Regions from separate parts of the Homo sapiens genome. Here all the other regions are linked to region 4. Evidence: promoter capture Hi-C in 16 types of primary human blood cells and fetal thymus (Javierre and others, 2016). All regions are on one chromosome and are shown on one strand. The core of a region is centred on a gene start or on the middle of the fragment in contact, and the rest is flanking DNA. Distances in the headings are between cores, read along the strand shown. Region 1 overlaps C5orf34 (chromosome 5 open reading frame 34). Region 2 has its middle 1.7 kb from the start of HMGCS1. Region 3 overlaps NNT-AS1 (NNT antisense RNA 1). Region 4 holds the start of DNAJC21 (DnaJ heat shock protein family (Hsp40) member C21). Region 5 overlaps TMEM267 (transmembrane protein 267). Region 6 overlaps ZNF131 (zinc finger protein 131). Region 7 overlaps PAIP1 (poly(A) binding protein interacting protein 1).

Region 1 (2,700 bases), core at 91-2,590, 8.6 Mb before region 4:
AATGATAGCAATATACTGCCTTTGGTTTTGAAAGAGTCACTCATACCCAGTGTGGGAAGATTTCTTGCCTACTCTGATGACAAAGTACATGCTATCTTTTTAGATGGCATTACTCTAACCCTAAATTGGAATTTCAGCTCTCCTATTGAGAAGAGACAGGTGGGTATACTTCAGACTTAGATCTATTTTTTATTGGTAATCTGTGGAAAACAGAACAAAGAAAACAAAGTACCACACTATTTCAGTTCATTTTTTGAAGTATAAAATCTGTCAAGAAGCTTTACTGATCTCTTTGGATTTCCTAGCAAAAATCAGAATGATTTGACAAATAGTCACTTTTCTAAAGATAACTGATTATAGAGAAAGGGATTAGTATTTTCATTTGCTTTGATAATTACCTATATGAGTGGTGGTTAAATAACACCCATATCTCATGTAAACAACATTTAAACTGTTGCATCTTTAATGATTCCTCTACTTATTTCTTTAAGTTAATGAAGTTAGAATAGGTTGTTTATGTTCTTTTTTTCAGTTCTAAAATGATAAAACTTATCTTTCTACTTCTTCAGGTAAATCAAGGTCTTAACTTAGGTTGGTGTAAGTTAACTTTTCCTGATGGACAAGAGCAGTTAATTCAGATTGAACACCCTGAACCATATGAAAGGTACTGAAAAGCAATTTTAAAAATTATTTTTATGTTTTACTTTTAACTAACAGAGAATAAGCAATAAGCATTATTTAAGTGTTATATATATTTTTAGTTTTTCCATGTGGATAATAATGAAGGCATTTCAGTCGTTTCAGAGTTGATAGCTGTACTTGTGTTTAGCATAACTAAATAGATCAAGTCAGCTTTTTTTTTTTTTTTTTTTTTGAGACAGAGTTTTGCTCCTGTGGCCTGGGCCGGAGTACAATGGCACGATCTCGGCTCACCACAACCTCCGCCTCCTGGGTTCAAGCGATTCTCCTGCCTCAGCCTCCTGAGTAGCTGGGATTACAGGCATGTGCCACCATGCCCGGCTAATTTTTGTATTTTTAGTAGAGATGGGGTTTCTCCATGTTGGTCAGGCTTGTCTTGAACTCCCGACCTCAGGTGATCTGCCCACCTTGGCCTCCCAAAGTGCTGAGATTACAGGCATGAGCCACCATGCCCGGCCTTCAGGTCAGCTTTAATCATTTCATTTGTATTCAAGTAACTTTTCAAAATGAAATGTGTTATAGACATACTGATTTGCTGTGGAGGTTGGATATGGTCAGCTGTGTTAACAATTAACTAATCCTCTAGCCAATTTGAAATAAGATTTGCAACCACAAATAACTGAAATTCTGTATATTTCTATAAAGTGGATAAAATTACGCAATGATTATCTTAAAATGGGGAAGAGTCTTCAGCTTTTTATGAATTTTTTTTCTTTTGGTTTATCTAATTTATTACAGTAAATCTTGTGATAGTCTTCACATTTTAGTGATTTCACTTGAGAATATTCACAAAATAATAGCTTTTTGTTACCTCTTGAATGTATTTTTCTGTTGGGTTTTATTGTGTTTCAGTCTAAGTGCTCATTCATTGCTATTAATGATTTGCCTCAAAAAAGATAGTTTCTTTAGCAAACATTTCTATTGATTCAGCCAATCATTTCAGATCATTCATTTTATTAAACTTGATACTTGTTTTAGATATGTAGTAAGTTACATATAATTACACATATGCATACAAGCATATGTGTATATGCATTAGCAGGTGTTTTTTGGTTTAAATTTTAGTAAGCAAATGCTCAGTCAGTCTTATTTTGTGTGAATATTTTTTGATAAAACTTAAACGCATTTTACTTTGAAAAACTAAAAGAATTAGAACATTTAAAATTGAACTTTAAATGAAATCCAAATATCGCCTTTATTTTGATTCTTAAATGTCACTTGTATTAATCACAAATATAAGTAAATCATTTTATTCTTGATGAATAATGGAAAAAATTTGGCTTTTCTATGACCAGTGAAAAATATTTTGAGAATTGCCCAGTAAATGCTTCACTTTAACATTTTTTCTTTATCCTTTTTTCCCAAATTGTCTTATTTTTACATTTGTTTATAATTTTATAATGTATTCAAGTTCATTTTTCAAGTATTTCTTTTAATGTATTCACTTTAGATATGTGACAACAGTAACATCATGGTGCAGGAGACTGACCCAGACTAGTCCCAGAGAGATGCCCACTCATTCGTCATCTTCTGTTCTCCAAGAAAATTGGTATTTTTCTTTTAAACTTAAATCTGTTTAGAAGAGCTAATACTTTAAAAAAAATTAAAATGTCAAATGGTAAACTGAGACTTTTTTCCCCAAAAAAACTTTCTTAGTTTTGAATATGTTTAACTCCTAAAGTATTTTTGATAGCTTAAGCTTGAAAATAATTTCTAATCAGACATCTAATTTATTACATTTCATCATATTCTATTTTACCTAAAGGTAAGAAAACCTTGCATTGAAAACTTAACATGAAAATGAGTGGCTCTTTTTATGTGACAAATTCATCCTGAAAACTTTATGGAAAAATTTAAAGGGGATTCTTAAATTTTTAGTAATGTTGAAGGAAATAAAAGGTTTAATAACATAAGCTTTCAGAAAACATTGATTTTTAAATAATTTCTGTCATATTAGTTACTTCTCCCAAATTAACTGGCAGATCAAATAAAGCAAGTATT
Region 2 (2,700 bases), core at 173-2,672, 8.4 Mb before region 4:
GAGGAAGGAAAAATAAGACATCATAAAGCGAGAGAAGCCCCTTATGGGTCTTTCGACTCTCACGTCTATTTAGATGCAGTTGGAGTCCCACAGGGAATACGAGATCAATTTAAAGCCCGAAATCAAATAGCTGCAGGATTTGAGTCAATATTTTGGTGGGTGACAATTAATAAAAATGCAGATTGGTTAAACGACATCTATTACAACCAACAGTGATGTATTAACTACACTAGAGATGCTGTTAAAGGAATAGCTGAGCAATTAGGGGCTATTAGCCAGATGGCTTGGGAAAATAGGATAGCCTTAGACATGATATTAGCAGAAAGAAGATGAGTTTGCGTTATGATTAAAACTCAATGTTGCACCTTCATCCCAAACAACGCCACCCCTAATGGAAGTATAACAAAGGCATTGTGAGGTCTGACTGCTCTATCCAATGAGTTAGCCAGCAACTCACGGGTAAATGATCCCTTTACAGGATGGCTAGAAAAGTGGTTCGGTAAATGGAAAGGAATAATAGCCCCAATTCTTACCTCCCTCATAGTCATAATAGGTGTACTTATTCTTGTCAGGTGCTGTGTCATACCATGCATCTGTGGGTTGGTGCAGAGGCTCATAGAAACGGTACTTACTAAAACCTCCCTTAACTATCCTCCACCTCATCCAGAAAAGCTTCTTCTTTTGGAAAATCAAGCAGAACAACTAAATCAAGACATGTTAAATAAGTTTGAAGAGAAAGCTGTAAGAAAAATGCAAGAGGAGGAAGTTGTTAAATATGAATTCTAAATTTCTCTTCAAAGAATTAATATGTCAGTATGTTCCATTCTTTGCCTTCTACTTTTAAACGTAGCTTCCTAGTAAAGCAACCTTTTCTGATTACCTACTCCAACCTGACTCATTCTCCACCTTGACTCATTCTGATTACGTACTCCACCTTGACTCATTCCAATTCATTCTTCACCCTGACTCATTTCATAACCATTTTTCCCGCCATCACTGTCTTTAAATTAGTCCATCGGAATTAGTTTAGCCTGTGCAGTCTAACCCTAGCCAATAAGGGAACGACACAGCAGTGGGGACCACGTGCGTCAGGAATAAGAACCCCTTTCCCTCCCTCGTCCAAGTGTGCACTCACCATTGCTCCATCTGTAAGGGTGCACCCTTCTATAGAAGTACCTTGCCTTGCTGAGAATTAAAAAGAAAATTTTATATTCGACTGCTATTTCTTTTGCAGCATGGAAACTTTATTTATAACAAGATCTTCTGTATCTAATTACTAACCCTTTTTGTTCTCCATTGCTTGGCTTCCCAGTAATCAATAATCATGCTCACTTTGCTTAATTGAAGATTAACGTGATCAAAAAGACGGTCTGTTCCTTGTAGAAATTTCCGGTTGTGTAAGATGGTCATTCTCATGACCGTCTGGCTAATCATTTCCCATTATGTACTCCTGGAGTTGGAATTATTTGCGATTCCTAACGACAAAACTGTATCTTCTTTCTTGTGTTTGTCCTTACTGCCTTTCAGCATATTCCAATATGCCAAGAATTTTAATCTCCTACCCCACCCCAAATTGCTGTTGATCATAATCAGGCAATGTCTCTCTCTCTGTTTACTATCTAGTTACTTTACATACATATGAAGTGAGTCATGGGCAATACTGTGGAATGGAAATCATTACTGAGTGGTCCTCTTCCCCCAAGTCATTTATGCCACCACTTCACAGTGGTTCCATTTCCAATATATTTTGCCACTTTGCTGCTGAGAATGTGTCTTACTAGGTTAGCATCTATAGTGGTTAAAAGAATCTCCCATAACAATAATTGTGTGAATCACAGAATTACCAATGACCCCTTATCAATAGCATTCCTGTTAATTAAATTGAGATGGGGAGAGATACAAACAACTCCGAACCTCACTCATGGTCCCCCACCAAAGCTAAGTATTATGGCTTCTCTCTCTGACCAGATAGAGGCAGAGTTTATTGCAAAGCCACAAGTGTCCTCCTTTGGATTCCCCCAAATAGTGTTTCAGTGAATTCCTCTAGCTTGAATTGCTCCTCTCTATTTGCTGGGGGAGTTAGGCAGTCCGTATCCGATGGATTTACTATGCCGACAATTACGTGGCCTTTCCACAGCCTTTTACTTGGCAGGTACCACATATGAAGCTTAGAAGATACAGTGGGCAACAGGCCAAATGGAGTCCCTTTCCTCAGAGTGCATGGCCTGGCAAAAATCCTTGAATTCAGTATCAACTTCCCTTCACAGGCAAGGCTCTGCACCCTCCCCACGGATGCCTAATCCTGAAACCATTTTGTTTTAGGTTTAGTTAGAAAGCTTTGTCTCAAGAGCACTTTTGTTTGTTCTGTTTTCTTTAAGTCAAGGTAGTTTTGAATAAAGGAGACAATATTTGAGTATTTACAAATCGGGTATTTAGACTATTTACACATATACAAGTTCTGGGTGAAGTATTCTGCTCCAATTTGCAATCTACGCACACTTTGCTAGAAAACGTTAAGACTGAATTCAAATCAAGTACAGTATTTCAGAAATCTTTCAGGTGAAGCCTAGTTCTGGTTGCTAGGCAACCTGACAGACTCCCAAGCTGGGACCACCTCGCCTCCCACATTTGACCATCTCTCCAGCGGTGGGACGCGGAGTACCCATTGGCCCGCATCTCCTCTCACTTAGTCCCAATTGG
Region 3 (2,700 bases), core at 48-2,547, 8.7 Mb before region 4:
GAGAGGTGCCCAGTAGCCAAAAATCAAAACATAGGCTGAACCTGAGAAGACATGTAATCAAAAACTGACCTCTAGTGATGGCTTGTTACCAAAACCCACCATCTAGGTAAAATCAGGCTACAGAAAAGGTAGCTTTAATGTCTTTTCATTGTGGTTATTATGTTACATGGTTATTGGCAATTTATTGTCTCAGCTTCCCTTTTATAAATAATTATTAGTAAAGTGAACAGCCCCAGAGAGATGGGATTCTTAGATTTCAGTGTGTCTAACAATGCAGACACTCGACAGGTTTTAAGGGAACCATCACTAACCTTAATCTTAGCCCTCTTCTCCCAGGCTGACCAATCAAGAGTGTTTGATTTTAGGAAATAAATGTTAACTGACTAAATGAGCTGATGCTAATCAACATTAACTGGAAGAAAAAAGAGAACTGATATTAAAGAGCCAGCACAAAGTTCAACAATTGGCATTTGTTTAAGCTACATAAGTAAAACCAGTTTGCATTTGAAATTTCTGTGAGCATTTAAAAAACTAGCTCATGGCATACTACTGTGAATATTGTCCTTTGCATATTCATGTAAGTACCAATTACAAAAACCTATGGGTTTTTAAATCAATATAAAAAATTGGCCGGGCGCGGTGGCTCATGCCTGTAATCCCAGCACTTTGTGGCCAAGGCAGGCGGATTGCCTGAGGTCAGGAGTTCGAGACCAGCCTGGCCAATAGGGTGAAACCCCATCTCTACTAAAAATACAAAAATTAGCTGGGCATGGTGGCAGGTGCCTGAAACCTGAAACCCCAGCTACTTGGGAGGCTGAGGCAGGACAATCACTTGAATTCAGGAGGTGGAGGTTGCAGTGAGCCAAGATCACATTGCACTCCAGCCTGAGTGACTAGAGTGAAACTCCATCTCAAAAAAAAAAAAAATTATCTGTGTAATCATAGTTTAGGGGGTCTGGGAAGCTGGTGAGGAATAGAAGCTATGTTAGTTTCCTACGGCTGCTGTAAGAAATTACCACAAACTGGGTGGCTGAAAACAACAGAAATCATTTCTATCACAGTTCTGGAGGTCAGAAGCCCAAAATGAAGGGGTTGGCAGGGTGGATTCTTTCTGGAAGCATTGAGGGAGAAACCATCCCATGCCTCTGCCAGAGCTTCTGTTGGTTGTTGGCAGTCCTTGGTGTTCCTTGGCTTATAAATGCAGCCAATCTCTGCCTCCATCTTCACATTGCCTTCTTCTCTATGTGCCTGTGTCCAAACCTCCCTCTCCTCTCTCTTATAAAGATACCAGTCAGTGGTCTTAAGGACCACCCTAAGTCCAGGATGGTTTCTGTCTTGAGATCCTTGACTAATTACATCTACGAAGCCTGTATTTCCAAATAAAGGCGGACACAGATACTTTGAGGGGGAACACTATTCAGCCCACTACATGGGCATTCTGTGTGTTTAAGGGTAACACACTGTAAAGAGGGTTTTGGGGGTCTTTGGGGGGAAGTTTCTTTGTTTTTTGAAGAGGGATGGATTTGCCAGTTATTGAGTTTAAAGTGAAAATCCAAATTATTTGAGGGAAATTCAGGTGAAAGTCATTTTGTATTAATAATTGGGGAAAAATTTCCTTAGTTATATACCCGGTTTACTGGTTTAATAAGCACTCAACCTAATTGAACTTTTCCTGCAATTTCTATATATCATATATTTATCACCATTATCAAACTACTTGATTATAAAACCCCATAATAGTACTTGATAAAAGAACTTCAGCCAAATTAAATTTAAAGGAGTTTAATTGAGCAATGAACCATTCATGAATCGGGCAGCCCCCAGAATCACAGCAGATTCACAGAGACTCCAGGGGTGTCTTGTGGTCAGAACAAATTTATAGACAAAAAAGGTAAAGTGAGGTACAGGAATTGGAAATGAGGTACAGAAACAGTGAGATTGGTTACAGCTCAGCATTTGCCTTATTTGAATGCAGTTTGAACATTCAGTAGTCTATGAGTGGTTGAAGTATGGCTGCTGGGATTGGCCACCACTCAGCTCCTGTTACAGGTGCATAGTTATTAAGTCAGGTTTTCAATTTTGCTTATTAAGTTAGATTACAGTTCATCCACAAAGACTCAAATATAGAAGTACGGAGTCTTTCTCAGGCCATATTTAGTTTGCTTTAACACGCTTAACATTTTTATAATACTTCACTTTTTAAATTTTGCATTTGATTAAAAGTTCTAATTTAATATAAGTTTTGCAAAGCATCATCTCTTTGAAGATCTTTTTTTATGCTACATGTTACCCATAATAGAAAAATAAAAACCAGAATATCTCACCTCCACTGGTTCGTTATACTCTCCTATCTCCTCTCCTCCTACCATTTATTATCAATTCTTTCTTTTTCTTTTTCTTTTCTTTTTTTTTTTTTGAAACAGTCTCACTCTGTAGCCCAGGCTGCAGTGCAGTGGGGTGACTTCAGCTCACTGCAACCTCTGCCTCATGGGTTCAAGTGATTCTCCTGCCTCAGCCTCCCAAGTAGCTGGGATTACAGGTGACCACCACCACACCTGGCTGATTTTGTATTTTTGATAGATGGGGTTTCACCATGTTGGACAGGCTGGTCTTGAACTCCTGGCCTCCAGTGATCTGCCTGCCTCAGACTCCCAAAGTAGCTGGGATTACAAGTGTGCGCCACCACACCCAGCTCATTCT
Region 4 (2,700 bases), core at 143-2,642:
GGTAACTCCCTCCCTGAATTCCTGGAGCATATATTAGTTGTTCCATTAATCTAACCACCAATTATGTATGTTGCGATTTTTTTCTGGCAGTTGTATTTAACTTTTCATTTGTGTAAGGCAGAAAGTTGTTTTCCTAACAAGACTCTAAGACCCCTGTCTCAGCATTTCCAAATCTACTTAGTAGAGTGCAGTGACTTGCATATATTGGATACTCTGTAACCGTGTTTACTGATGAATGCTAATATGAAAGCCTCTTCATATGAACCTCAAAAAGCTGAAAGTCAACTACTCTCTTAGTTTCCCAGCCTGGAAGATCAGATTACTTCATAAAAGTCACACAGGCCTGGATTACAGACCAATGAAACATCCAAAGGAAGGATACTTCTAAGTAAACATACAAACTTTACTGGGGAAGCCGCCTGATTAAAACCTTCCCCGGCAGAATCATGTCCAAAGTGAAGTACAAGGTCTGCTTAAACAGCTTATTAAAAGAAAAAAAAAACAGCGAAAAAAGCGCATCCCTATTGAAAAGATATTTTACTAGCTCCCGTGTCTTAACTTCTTAACTAAGAAACGAAAAGAGCCATACATCAGGTTGAAGTATCTGGGATTCCCGGACGAGGTGGAGGGCAGCGGAGGAAAAACACCGAGAGGCTGCGCTGCAAGGGACGCAGGGAAAAGCAAGCCTGGGGCAGGTCTGAGTTCCGAGTTCCCGACTGCTCCCTCGTGGTGTCTGCGACCCGGTAGCGGGAGCAAGTGAGGTTGTTGGACTGCAGTTTTCCCCCTACAGTGGCGATGCGGGGCCGGGGTCGCGGGTATGAGGAGATGGGGTGTGAGCCGGGGTGCGCCAGGGCAGAGCGCTTCGCCCACCGAGACGGGCAGGGCGGCTCCGGGCACTGGCCGGGCGGGGCAAGGAGCTCCTAGGCCGCCAGGTCCCTCTCTGCTGGCTCCGCGGAGTCCGCCCGGGGGAAGGGAAGGTCGGGGAGGGCCGGGCTTCTCCGAGTGGCCGCGGGGGCTGCGGGACAGGTACTTACCCGGGTGCCATTTCAGGGCCAGCTTCCGATAGGCCTTCTTGAGCTCCTCCTCGCTGGCGTCGCGCCGCACCCCCAGCGCCTCATAGTGACACTTCATCGCCCGACCGGGCGGGCGGCCGGCGCTGGGGCCCGGGACGGGGTCGGGGCCCGGGCCCGGGCCGAAGCGGCGGCGGCGGCGGCGCTGGCAGTCCTCTCCGGCGGGAGTCCGCCGCCCGCACCGGGCCAGCCAGCGAGCCCGGCGGCGGCGGCGGCGGCGGCGGTGGTGTAGGTCAGTGAAGGCGCGCGGTGGCGGCAGACGACGCAGGCTGCGGCAAGCGGGAGCGCGGCGGGGGCGGTGCCGGCGGCCGCCGCTTCGCATGGGCTAGGGGTGGGCTCTGTGCCGGAAAGGGCCGCGCGGGAGGGGGTGGGGCCTCGGCGGGGTGAGAGGCGAGGCCCCGAGGAAGGAAGGCGGGGCCTTGGCGAGGAGAGAGGCGGGCCGCGCAGGAGAAAGGCGGGAGCTTGGCGGGGAAAGAGGCGGGCCGCGTGGGAGGAAGGTAGGCCTTGGCCGGGAAGAACAGGAGGAAGGCGGGACCTTGGTGTGAGAGGCGGGGCCTCGGCGGGGCGAGAGGCGGGGCCGCGCGGAAGGGAGGCAGGGCCACGCTGGTGTCATTGTGAGGGGCACAGATGGCGGTCAGTGTGAGTGGCAGCCGACCTGAGGGCTGAAGGGGGAGATAGGAGCTGGGATGGGAGAGGATTCTGGAAAATATCTGATTATAATTTCTCAATGGATCCCCGTTTTTATAGATAAGGCGATTCAGACTCCAAGTGGTCAAGTGGTTGGCTCAAGCCTCCTCAGCTAATACAGTAGCAGAATTCGGTTGGACTGAATATCAGGTTTTTTTTTTAATCTCTTTAATTCTCTTCAGCTGCCACTTAAGATATCTGGTATTGATCATCTTGACCAATATGCTTGAGAAAGGACAGTTAGATTATTTAAGCGGAAACAATTTAAAAGGGAAGCATCAACACACTTAATGAAAAGCCTTACCACCAACATGGATGAAATTGTGCTGATCTATCCATCCAACACACTTTAATCCTAACTTTCTGGCCTCTAATCCTACCTTTCCAAGATTGGTTTAGGTTAAGAAAGCAGTTAAAGGATAGTATTTAACTGGTAGGTTTTGGTTGATCTGACTATCTGCACAATTATTCCAAACACTTTGAAAGGTATCAAAATAATACCATAATTATTAAAATGCATTAATACACCAATATATTTCACTGTAATGTGGAATGTTTACATGCATCAGTTAGGTGTGGGTTGTATTTACTAACCATGTATGGTTAGCTATGTTGCTAATATCTATTGCACAGGGTTGGCGTACCCAAGCGGTTTAGTAAGGTTATCCTTCTCTTCCCCAATATGCTGCCCCCAGTAAAATAAAAAACCCACGCTAAGCTTCATCAGGTTACTTCACACGCCACTGACCAACCAACTCACTACTCAGAATTCATACACTTCCCTTTTTTCCAGAGGAAGATTCTACACAGTCTCAGTTAGTTGGTAAATTGGTAATGGATAAGGATTGAGAAGTCTGAGTTTGGGGGAGAATGAAACCTTTCCCCTCCTGAGAACAGAATTGGGATGGTGGGCGGGGGGAAGGGAGGGACAAAAAAAAAAAAA
Region 5 (2,700 bases), core at 53-2,552, 8.5 Mb before region 4:
TCATCTTTTAATAGAGTTTTGTTGTTTCATTCTTGCTATTTTAATTCTTGGCATTTTGAGTTGCTGTTGTGAATGTTCATTTTCCCATCTTATGATTATTGCTATTATATTGAAAAATTGTTTTAGTTCATACCTTGAACTAACCACATTTTTCAACTTAAATTCCAACAGTTTTCTGTTGGTTCTCTTGGGTAGGCAGTCATTTCACCTGCAAACTAATGTAATTATCTTTTCCTTCCTGATAATGTAATGATACATTTTCTTCCCTCCCTCTCCTGCCTTTATTCTTTTTCCTCATTACATTGATTAAAACCGCCAAAACGATGTTATAATAGCTATACTGTTTCTGACTTTTTTTTAAATTATACTTTAAGTTCTGGGGTACATGTGCAGAATGTGCAGGTTTGTTGCATAGGTATACACGTGCCATGGTGGTTTGCTGCACCCATCAACCTGTCATCTACATTAGGTATTTCTCCTAATGCTATCCCTCCCCTAGCCCCCCACCCACCTATAGGCCCTGGTATTCCCCTCCCTGTGTACCCTCTCTGTGTCCATGTGTTCTCATTGTTCAACTTCCACTTATGAGTGAGAACATGCGGTGTTTGGTTTTCTGTTCTGTTAGTTTGCTGAGAATGATGGTTTCCAGCTTCATCCATGTCCCTGCAAAGGACATGAGTTCATTCTTTTTTATGGTTGCATAGTATTCTGTGGTGTATATGTGCCACATTTTCTTTATCCAGTCTATCACTGATGGGCATTTCGTTCCAAGCCTTTGCTATTGTAAACAGTGCCACAATAAACATACGTGTGCATGAGTCTTTATAGTAGAATGATTTATAACCCTTTGGGTATATACCCAGGAATGGGATTGCTGGATCAAATGGTATTTCTAGTTCTAGATCCTTGAGGAATCGCCACACTGTCTTCCACATTGGTTGAACTAATTTACACTCCCACCAACAGTGTAAAAGCGTTCCTATTTCTCCACATCCTCTCCAGCATCTGTTGTTTCCTGACTTTTTAATGATCGCCATTCTAACTGGCGTGAGATGTGGTTTTGATTTGCATATCTCTAATGACCAGTGATGATGAGCCTTTTTTCATTTTTTTTTTTTTTTTTTTTGAGACAGAGTTTTGCTCTTGTTGCCCGGGCTGGAGTGCAATGGCGTGATCTTGGCTCACCACAACCTCTGCCTGCTGGATTCAAGCAATTCTCCTGCCTCATCCTCCCGAGTAGCCGGGATTACAAGCATGCACCACCACGCTTGGCTAATTTTGTATTTTTAGTAGAGATGGGATTTCTCCGTGTTGGTCAGGCTGGTCTCGAACTCCCGACCTCAGGTGATCCACCTGCCTCAGCCTCCCAAAGTGCTGGGATTACAGGCGTGAGCACCACGCCTGGCAAATGTCTTCTTTTGAGAAGTGTCTGTTCATATCCTTCACCCACTTTTTGATGGGGTTGTTTGCTTTTTTCTTGTAAATTGGTTTCTCTGTAGATTCTGGATATTAGCCCTTTTTCAGTTGGATAGATTGCAAAAAATTTTCTCCCAGTCTGTAGGTGGCCTGTTCGCTCTGATGATCGTTTCTTTTGCTGTGTAGAAGCTCTTTCGTTTAATTAGATCTCATTTGTCTATTTTGGCTTTTGTTGCCATTGCTTTTGGTAACAAAAGACGAAGTCTTTGCCCATGCCTGTGTCCTAAATTGCCTAGGTTTTCTTCTTGGGTTTTTATGGTTTTAGGTCTTACGTTTAAGTCTTTAATCCATCTTGAGTTAATTTTTGTATAAGGTGTAAGGAAGGGATCCAGTTTCAGCTTTCTGCATATGGCTAGCCAGTTTTCCCAACACCATTTATTAACTAGGAATTCCTTTCCCCATTGCTTTTTTTTGTCAGATTTGTCAAAGATCAGATGGTTGTAGATGTGTGGTGTTATTTCTCAGGCCTCTGTTCTGTTCCATTGATCTATATATCTGTTTTGGTACCAGTACCATGCTGTTTTTGTTACTGTAGCCTTGTAGTATAGATTGAAGTCAGGTCACGTGATGCCTCCACCTTTGTTCCTTTTGCTTAGGATTGTCTTGGCTATTTATGCATGCTGTTTTTTGGTTCCATGTGAAATTTAAAGTTGTTTTTTCCAATTTTGTGAAGGAAGTCAATGGTAGCTTGATGAGGATAGCATTGAATCTGTAAATTACTTTGGGCAGTATGGCCATTTTCATGATATTCATTCTTCCTATCCATGAGCATGGAATGTTTTTCCATTTGTTTGTGTCCTCTCTTATTTCCTTGATCAGTGAGTGGTTTGTAGCTCTCCTTGAAGAGGTCCTTCATATCCCTTGTAAGTTGTATTCCTAGGTATTTTATTCTCCTTGTAGCAATTGTGAATGGGAGTTCACTCATGATTTGGCTCTCTGTTTGTCTGTTATTGGTGTATAGGAATGCTTGTGATTTTTGCGCATTGATTTTGTATCCTGAGACTTTGCTGAAGTTGCTTATCAGCTTAAGGAGATTTTGGGCTGAGACGATGGGGTTTTCTAATTATACAATCATGTCATCTGCAAACAGAGACAATTTGACTTCCTCTTTCCCTAATTGAATACCCTTTATTTCTTTCTCTTGCCTGATTGCCCTGGCCAGAACTATGTTGAATGTACAATTAAGTTATTATTCACTGTAGTTACCCTGTTGTGCTATCAAGT
Region 6 (2,700 bases), core at 10-2,509, 8.2 Mb before region 4:
CAAAACCCAAGAACCCTAAAAGAAGCTAAAATTCTGTAATTACGTAGGCAAACATTTATTTCCTGCTGTTTTAGATTTTGATGCTGGTGGTAGGGGAGGAGTTACTGCAGTAGCAGAAGAAAAAGCATGGTAATTAATAGCACAAACTTAATTCCTTGCTAGTTGGACAACCCTGGGCAAGTAACCTTTTAGAGCCTGCTTCCTGAAGTGTAAATTATTACAAATAACACCACTTCCCTTTTTGAAAAGAAAAGAAAAGAAAAGAAAAGACAGGGTCTATGTTGCCCCAGGCTGGCCTCGAACTCCTGGGCTCAAGCAATCCTCCTGCCTCAGCCTCCCGAGTAGCTGGGACTACAAGCACAAGCCATCCTGCCCAACATCAAACGATTGCTGTGAGCCTTAGACAATACACAAAACTACATATCACAACGCCTGGCACTTGGCAGGTTATTATTAGAAAAATGTCTAGAAAGTACAAAAATCACTTTTTGCTTCAAGGTAACAGGTATTGATCCATCCCATTGTAGAGCCAGAATTTCCTCTAAATGCTACTTCAGTTCATTTTTCCTAGCTTTCTCCCTATTATGGCAGCCCACTTCACACTGCATGTCATCTGTACCTCTGCTAATACATCACTACTTCTGCTATAGAGTACAGTAAAAGCTTCTACTGTAACCTGCAGCATCTCCAGCAGTCTGAAACATAAGCCCACTGAACAAAGATAGTAATTCACGTTTAATACTTGTTTTCAAAAAACAATGACCACCAGTTTCCACAATGGAAAAGACCAACATCTACCATCTAAGTTTTTCCTGGCAGATCATTCAACCAAGCACTTCACTGAAAGTAAGACTTCTCAGGTATCAAAAGAACAATTTATCTACCTTTACCTACAGGAACTACTGATGCCTATTTCCTATGGTGTCTTGATAAACTGTCTAAAACTGCTTCACCAATTGTTTGCTAAGTATTGTATTTAAAACAAGCATTTAAATAAAATGGCTTCTTTGATTTATTAAATAAAAAAACAACAAGAATCATTTACCTTCTATCTCCACCAATGGTTCTTGGGTAAACTCCTGAAAGAATTTGTAGAAGAACTTACTACAAGCAGCCAAAACAGCCTTGTGAGCCTTAAAATGGTGTCCTAGGTAAAATAAGAAAAAAAAAGAAAATCATACACAAGCACGAAAATCAAATGTATAACTACAAAATAGACTTAAAAATCATATAAAGCAAAATAGGTCTTCCTTCATTACGTAACTACAGAAATTATTGAACTAAATGCAGAATATTCTTGGCAGCTATCTTGGCAAATGTTAATCTCAATTAGATATAAAGCTAAATCTTCACTTCAAACCCCTTTAGTTTTATAAAGCCTAATTTACAACACTAGGTAAGGAGCCTCTTGACACTCTGTTGTTTCCAATTAAGTAGTGAGAAGCATATCCAACTCAGTTGAAACTGCTAAATAAAAGGACAACCCAAAAGGTCACATATCATTTGGAAAGAGAGAAAAAAACCGTAAGCACAAAGCTGGATATGTCTGCTATGAAAAACATTTTAATATGCCTAATATTTGGAAGCTCCATCTATGGTAGACCCATAATTTTAAAAACAGGTTACCTTGAGAAACCTATTTTCGCTAAACAGAAAACATACCCACGCTGGATTTCCTTCCATTATAGAGGCAACTCCTAAGGCTGGTAAAGACCCCATTTTATTTTGGAGATTCTCAAAGGGGGTATGAGTGCTGCAATGGAATCTCTCATTCTCCCTTCAAGACCATTTGGGAAACTAGAAAAAAAATCAACACTTCCCAAATGACTCCTGTAAGGGACTTCTCAAAGCTTACCAACAAGAGGCTATCAACCAAACATTTTGAGACAATCTGTCCCCAACGACATCATCTTGCACTCAACAGGATGTAAGAAGTTAAAATGAGATGAACACCAGACTACGTGGAAGGCATGACTGACCAACCAGCCTTCTGCAGCACGCTGTGTGAGTGGACACTGACAAGTGCAATCTGGTCCCAGTGCACACACTCTGCAGACTTTGGTAGGGAGACCATAGAGGATGGGTTAAAAAAAAAAAAAAAAAAAAAAAGGCGGGTGTCCGAAGGACAGAAAAAAACTGAAGCCAAAAATTCGCTCCTCTGCCCACTGCCCTACCCACCGTCGACAATTAGGGTGATGTCAGTAAACCGGTCCTGCTCTCGCTGTTCATTCAATCGGTCGAGGATCATTTTATGATGTTCAGGGAACTCCTGAAGGCATTCCATCGTCTCTTCAGCCTCCATGGCCGTCGGGCTGCTCTACAAAAGAAGAGCATGATAATGTACACCCATGAGCTCGAGCCGAGGAACAAAACCCCTAAAGCATAAAACAACAACAAAAAAAACCAGCAACGTGAAAAGAAGGGGGGAGGGTGAAGCAAGAGGAGAGAAAGGCGAGGGAAGAAAGGCGAGCCGAGCGGCCCCGGAGCGTTGAGACCGGAGCCGCGGCCGCGGGACTCCGAGCCTGACCTAATTGGAGTCGGGAGACGCGAGCTAGAGCGGGGTGGGCACAGCGCCGGAGGTTCCGAGCGCCAGGGCGCGCAAGTCCAACAAGGGAGGGGACTCGACAGCCGTGGCGGTCCTCTAACGGCCCGCCAAGCCCTTCTGCCCGGCCGGGGCTCCCACCGCCCCGGGACCCGGTC
Region 7 (2,700 bases), core at 14-2,513, 8.6 Mb before region 4:
AGTATATAAAGTCATGTTAGTCCACCTACTTTGAGCCACTGCATCTTTTAGGCATTCCTTGCCATCCTCTAATAGATCAGCACCTCCTGTGCTCAATTTACCAAAACAGATTGCAGCCTGGCACCTGGAAACCTGTGTGGCCTGCAGGTGTCTTCTCTAGCCCTGAATGGGTTTGTTTTTTCTTTAAGTTGTTTTATTTAATTAACCAATACCTAAATTAGATATTAGAAACTTGAATGTTCTGGTTTGTCATAAAATCTGGCCTTAGTGGACTGGCATTTTGATACAGCAAAAATTGGTTGGAGCTGAGTAGAGGCATTCTCTTTAGATGGAGTCTGTGAGCTCTAATTTGCTTTCTGGCTTATTTCATTCATTTGTAATCTACCTGAATTCTACAGGCATTCAGGCTTACTACCCCTGTTCTGGTATATTCTCTAGCCTTACTGGTTTACCCTAATCTTTACCCATAGTTAAGGCTAAGAGAGTTTTTCTCAATCCAATTAGTCATAGAACAGCAGGATCCTTTTTTCCCCCGACTCTTAGGATAAGCTCTTGTTGCAAAGGAAACATTTCCTTTTAGTAGCCATAATCCAAAGTTAGCTACATTCACTCATTCAACAAATAGTCAAGTACTTATCATGAGTCAAGCACCGGTGATACAGCAACAAACAAAATGGACAGAAATTCCTGTCTTCATGGAGTCTCTATTCTAGTAGTCTCCTGGCTCAGTTTGCAGACATTTATTGAATCTGCTTTTGTTCTACACATGAAAATCTATTTCCTGGTATCCTTTTTCTAACAGCCTTTATGGTAGTCTTCTGCTGTGCTTTCTTAACTCTTTCAAGGCACCAAGCCCTTTTATCTTCAGTTCTTCCTCTAATCCTGCTGCTAGAATTTCCTACTTTCCATGTCTTCTTACCAGTGAGTTGCTATATCCATTTATCCCTGGCCATTATTTCTTCTCAGACAAACCATTATGCCTTGAATATTTGTCACAGTTCACTTACCAGAGCCAAAAATTTAACATAGGAATTCATAAAGCATTGATGAAGAGACAGAAGTCCCCTTCCTCCCCTGCAAAAAAACGAGCTTTTTTTCTAAGAGAATCCCTCTTCAAGTTACTTCCCAGTTTTTGTTCTGCCTTGCAGTAGTATCATTCTCCAATAGGTAAAATTATTCACTGTCTCTCACTGTTCAGACCTCTGCAGTCTGATCTCCCTAATTGTATTGATACTATTTTTGTGACTGATGTTCTTCCGATTTTTAAATTTATCTTCCTAAATCTCATTTTAAAACTTTGAGCACTGTAGGATCTATTCAGTTTATAAATCCCCATGTGCCAGGTCCTGTGCTAGGTGCAAAGGTACCTTTTTAGTCTATCAGAAGCTCCCTCCCATTGTTTTAAGAACTAAGTATTTGAGGTACTAGTTTTGTTCTTTTTTCTCTCTGAGTATAATCTCCTTCACTCCCGAGACTCTGCAATGATAATTCTCTTCCAGATTTCAACCTATGAATTTATTCTGTAGCATTTGTTGTTATGAGCATCTCTTCTCCCCTACCTCTTTGGCTTCTGTGGCAGTACTTTATCCTCCCAACTTGCAGATCATTCCTTTTCCCCTCAGATGACAGTTGGTGACGTTCTTTCTTCCATTTTATTACCTCCTTTGCTAATCCCGCCTATTCCATAGAATCTATCACTTATTTATGTGCTAATAACCCTGACATCTAATTATTCCTTTGAACTCTAGTGAACTCTAGGCATACATTTTCATTTATTTGACCACTTCTTGAGGACCTCACATTCAAATGCAAGTATAAAATCTATACACAGTGTAAGAATTATTTATCTCATGCGAATCTCTTCTAACTAGCTGCTTACACTAAGAACTTGGTGGCATATTGACTCACCTCTCCTGCACACCCTTGCCTTAATTCAATCCAGCTAGCTAAAGTAGTCGTGACTATATTCACTCTCTGTAGTGTCTGATCAGTTTTCTTTTATTCCCACGGTTCTGTAATAGGTTCTCATCTCTTGACAATGTATATAGAGTACCTACCATGAAAAAGTACATTTTCTATTTCTCCCAATCTCCCATAGAATTCTAAGAAAAATAAAACTTGAAAATATCTCTGTTTGGAAGCCATTTGACTCCACATTGAAGACTGAAGAAATTTGTGGCTTTAAAAAATCTGGTGCTAGAGAAGTAATGCAGGCTTTGATTCAAACACGTTGGAGTGCCTGTCTGTTCCAAATACTCTATGCCTCCTTTTTTTGCTTAAAATGGCAGGCTCTGGATCCTCTGTTCTGCTATATTCAGAGCAGTTCTACTTTCTTCTTTTACTGATCAGATTTTACATTTTCTTAAAAGAGAGTTCTGTTGACTTTAAAAAAAAAAAAAAAAAGATTGCAAATCAGCGCTCTAAGCAGCATTTTTGCCACGAAGAATGACATTTGATGGAAACAGGAAATTAGTACTTTCAGCTGGGACCCGTACCTTTGCCTTTCTGCTGTTCCTTGTCATTAATAGTGGTAGGATACTACAAGTCTGTAAAACTAGTAACTGTATATCAAAAACTTAAGACTAGTTTTTAGTTATAAAATTCACGCATGTATGTAGTTAACATTAAGTATATGAATGTGTACAATTATGCCTAACTGCTTTCACAACTTTATAATGTCAATATTTATAATGGGAACAT

The links. Contacts are between HindIII fragments. The CHiCAGO score rates a contact against its expected background, and 5 or more counts as called.
Region 1: a contact is called between a fragment that was not itself captured here and the fragment with the promoter of DNAJC21 in region 4, in 1 of 17 cell types (total B cells). The highest score is 5.2, in total B cells.
Region 2: a fragment that was not itself captured here is called in contact with the fragment with the promoter of DNAJC21 in region 4 in 1 of 17 cell types (neutrophils); the score reaches 5.7 in neutrophils.
Region 3: a fragment that was not itself captured here is called in contact with the fragment with the promoter of DNAJC21 in region 4 in 1 of 17 cell types (total CD4 T cells); the score reaches 7.9 in total CD4 T cells.
Region 5: a contact is called between a fragment that was not itself captured here and the fragment with the promoter of DNAJC21 in region 4, in 1 of 17 cell types (neutrophils). The highest score is 8.4, in neutrophils.
Region 6: a contact is called between a fragment that was not itself captured here and the fragment with the promoter of DNAJC21 in region 4, in 1 of 17 cell types (total CD4 T cells). The highest score is 5.5, in total CD4 T cells.
Region 7: a fragment that was not itself captured here is called in contact with the fragment with the promoter of DNAJC21 in region 4 in 3 of 17 cell types (fetal thymus, monocytes and total B cells); the score reaches 8.1 in fetal thymus.

What each region holds. Positions count from the first base shown.
Region 1 is chr5:43,490,179-43,492,878 of GRCh38, reverse strand. C5orf34 (chromosome 5 open reading frame 34) reads left to right here. Exons shown (of 13, transcript NM_198566.4): 9 at 1-159; 10 at 570-664; 11 at 2,150-2,248. The region is part of intron 2 of C5orf34-AS1 (C5orf34 antisense RNA 1); the gene reads right to left. Among named protein-coding and RNA genes, the nearest start is that of C5orf34-AS1, 7.6 kb to the right of the region's middle. The HindIII fragment of the contact is 2,120 bases long and covers 281-2,400 here.
Region 2 is chr5:43,313,767-43,316,466 of GRCh38, reverse strand. No RefSeq gene overlaps it. Among named protein-coding and RNA genes, the nearest start is that of HMGCS1, 1.7 kb to the right of the region's middle. RefSeq lists enhancers at 334-1,533, 1,628-2,142, 2,143-2,659, 2,666-2,700. The HindIII fragment of the contact is 1,495 bases long and covers 675-2,169 here.
Region 3 is chr5:43,598,259-43,600,958 of GRCh38, reverse strand. The region is part of intron 1 of NNT-AS1 (NNT antisense RNA 1); the gene reads left to right. Among named protein-coding and RNA genes, the nearest start is that of NNT, 3.6 kb to the left of the region's middle. The HindIII fragment of the contact is 3,540 bases long and covers 1-2,700 here.
Region 4 is chr5:34,928,251-34,930,950 of GRCh38, reverse strand. It overlaps DNAJC21 (DnaJ heat shock protein family (Hsp40) member C21), which reads right to left and starts at 1,392. Exons shown (of 12, transcript NM_001012339.3): 1 at 1,035-1,392. The coding sequence starts at 1,131. LOC124900961 (a long non-coding RNA gene) reads left to right here and starts at 1,270. Exons shown (of 2, transcript XR_007058731.1): 1 at 1,270-1,302; 2 at 1,818-2,700. RefSeq lists enhancers at 627-796, 263-908 and silencers at 937-1,136, 1,167-1,236, 1,247-1,716. The HindIII fragment of the contact is 5,598 bases long and covers 1-2,477 here.
Region 5 is chr5:43,473,186-43,475,885 of GRCh38, reverse strand. The region is part of intron 1 of TMEM267 (transmembrane protein 267); the gene reads left to right. Among named protein-coding and RNA genes, the nearest start is that of TMEM267, 9.3 kb to the left of the region's middle. The HindIII fragment of the contact is 7,857 bases long and covers 1-2,700 here.
Region 6 is chr5:43,121,656-43,124,355 of GRCh38, reverse strand. ZNF131 (zinc finger protein 131) reads right to left here. Exons shown (of 7, transcript NM_001330707.2): 2 at 2,179-2,317; 3 at 1,046-1,147. The coding sequence starts at 2,302. Among named protein-coding and RNA genes, the nearest start is that of ZNF131, 2.1 kb to the right of the region's middle. RefSeq lists enhancers at 1,787-2,354, 2,355-2,700 and a silencer at 2,501-2,700. The HindIII fragment of the contact is 1,187 bases long and covers 666-1,852 here.
Region 7 is chr5:43,551,449-43,554,148 of GRCh38, reverse strand. The region is part of intron 2 of PAIP1 (poly(A) binding protein interacting protein 1); the gene reads left to right. Among named protein-coding and RNA genes, the nearest start is that of PAIP1, 4.3 kb to the left of the region's middle. The HindIII fragment of the contact is 3,206 bases long and covers 1-2,700 here.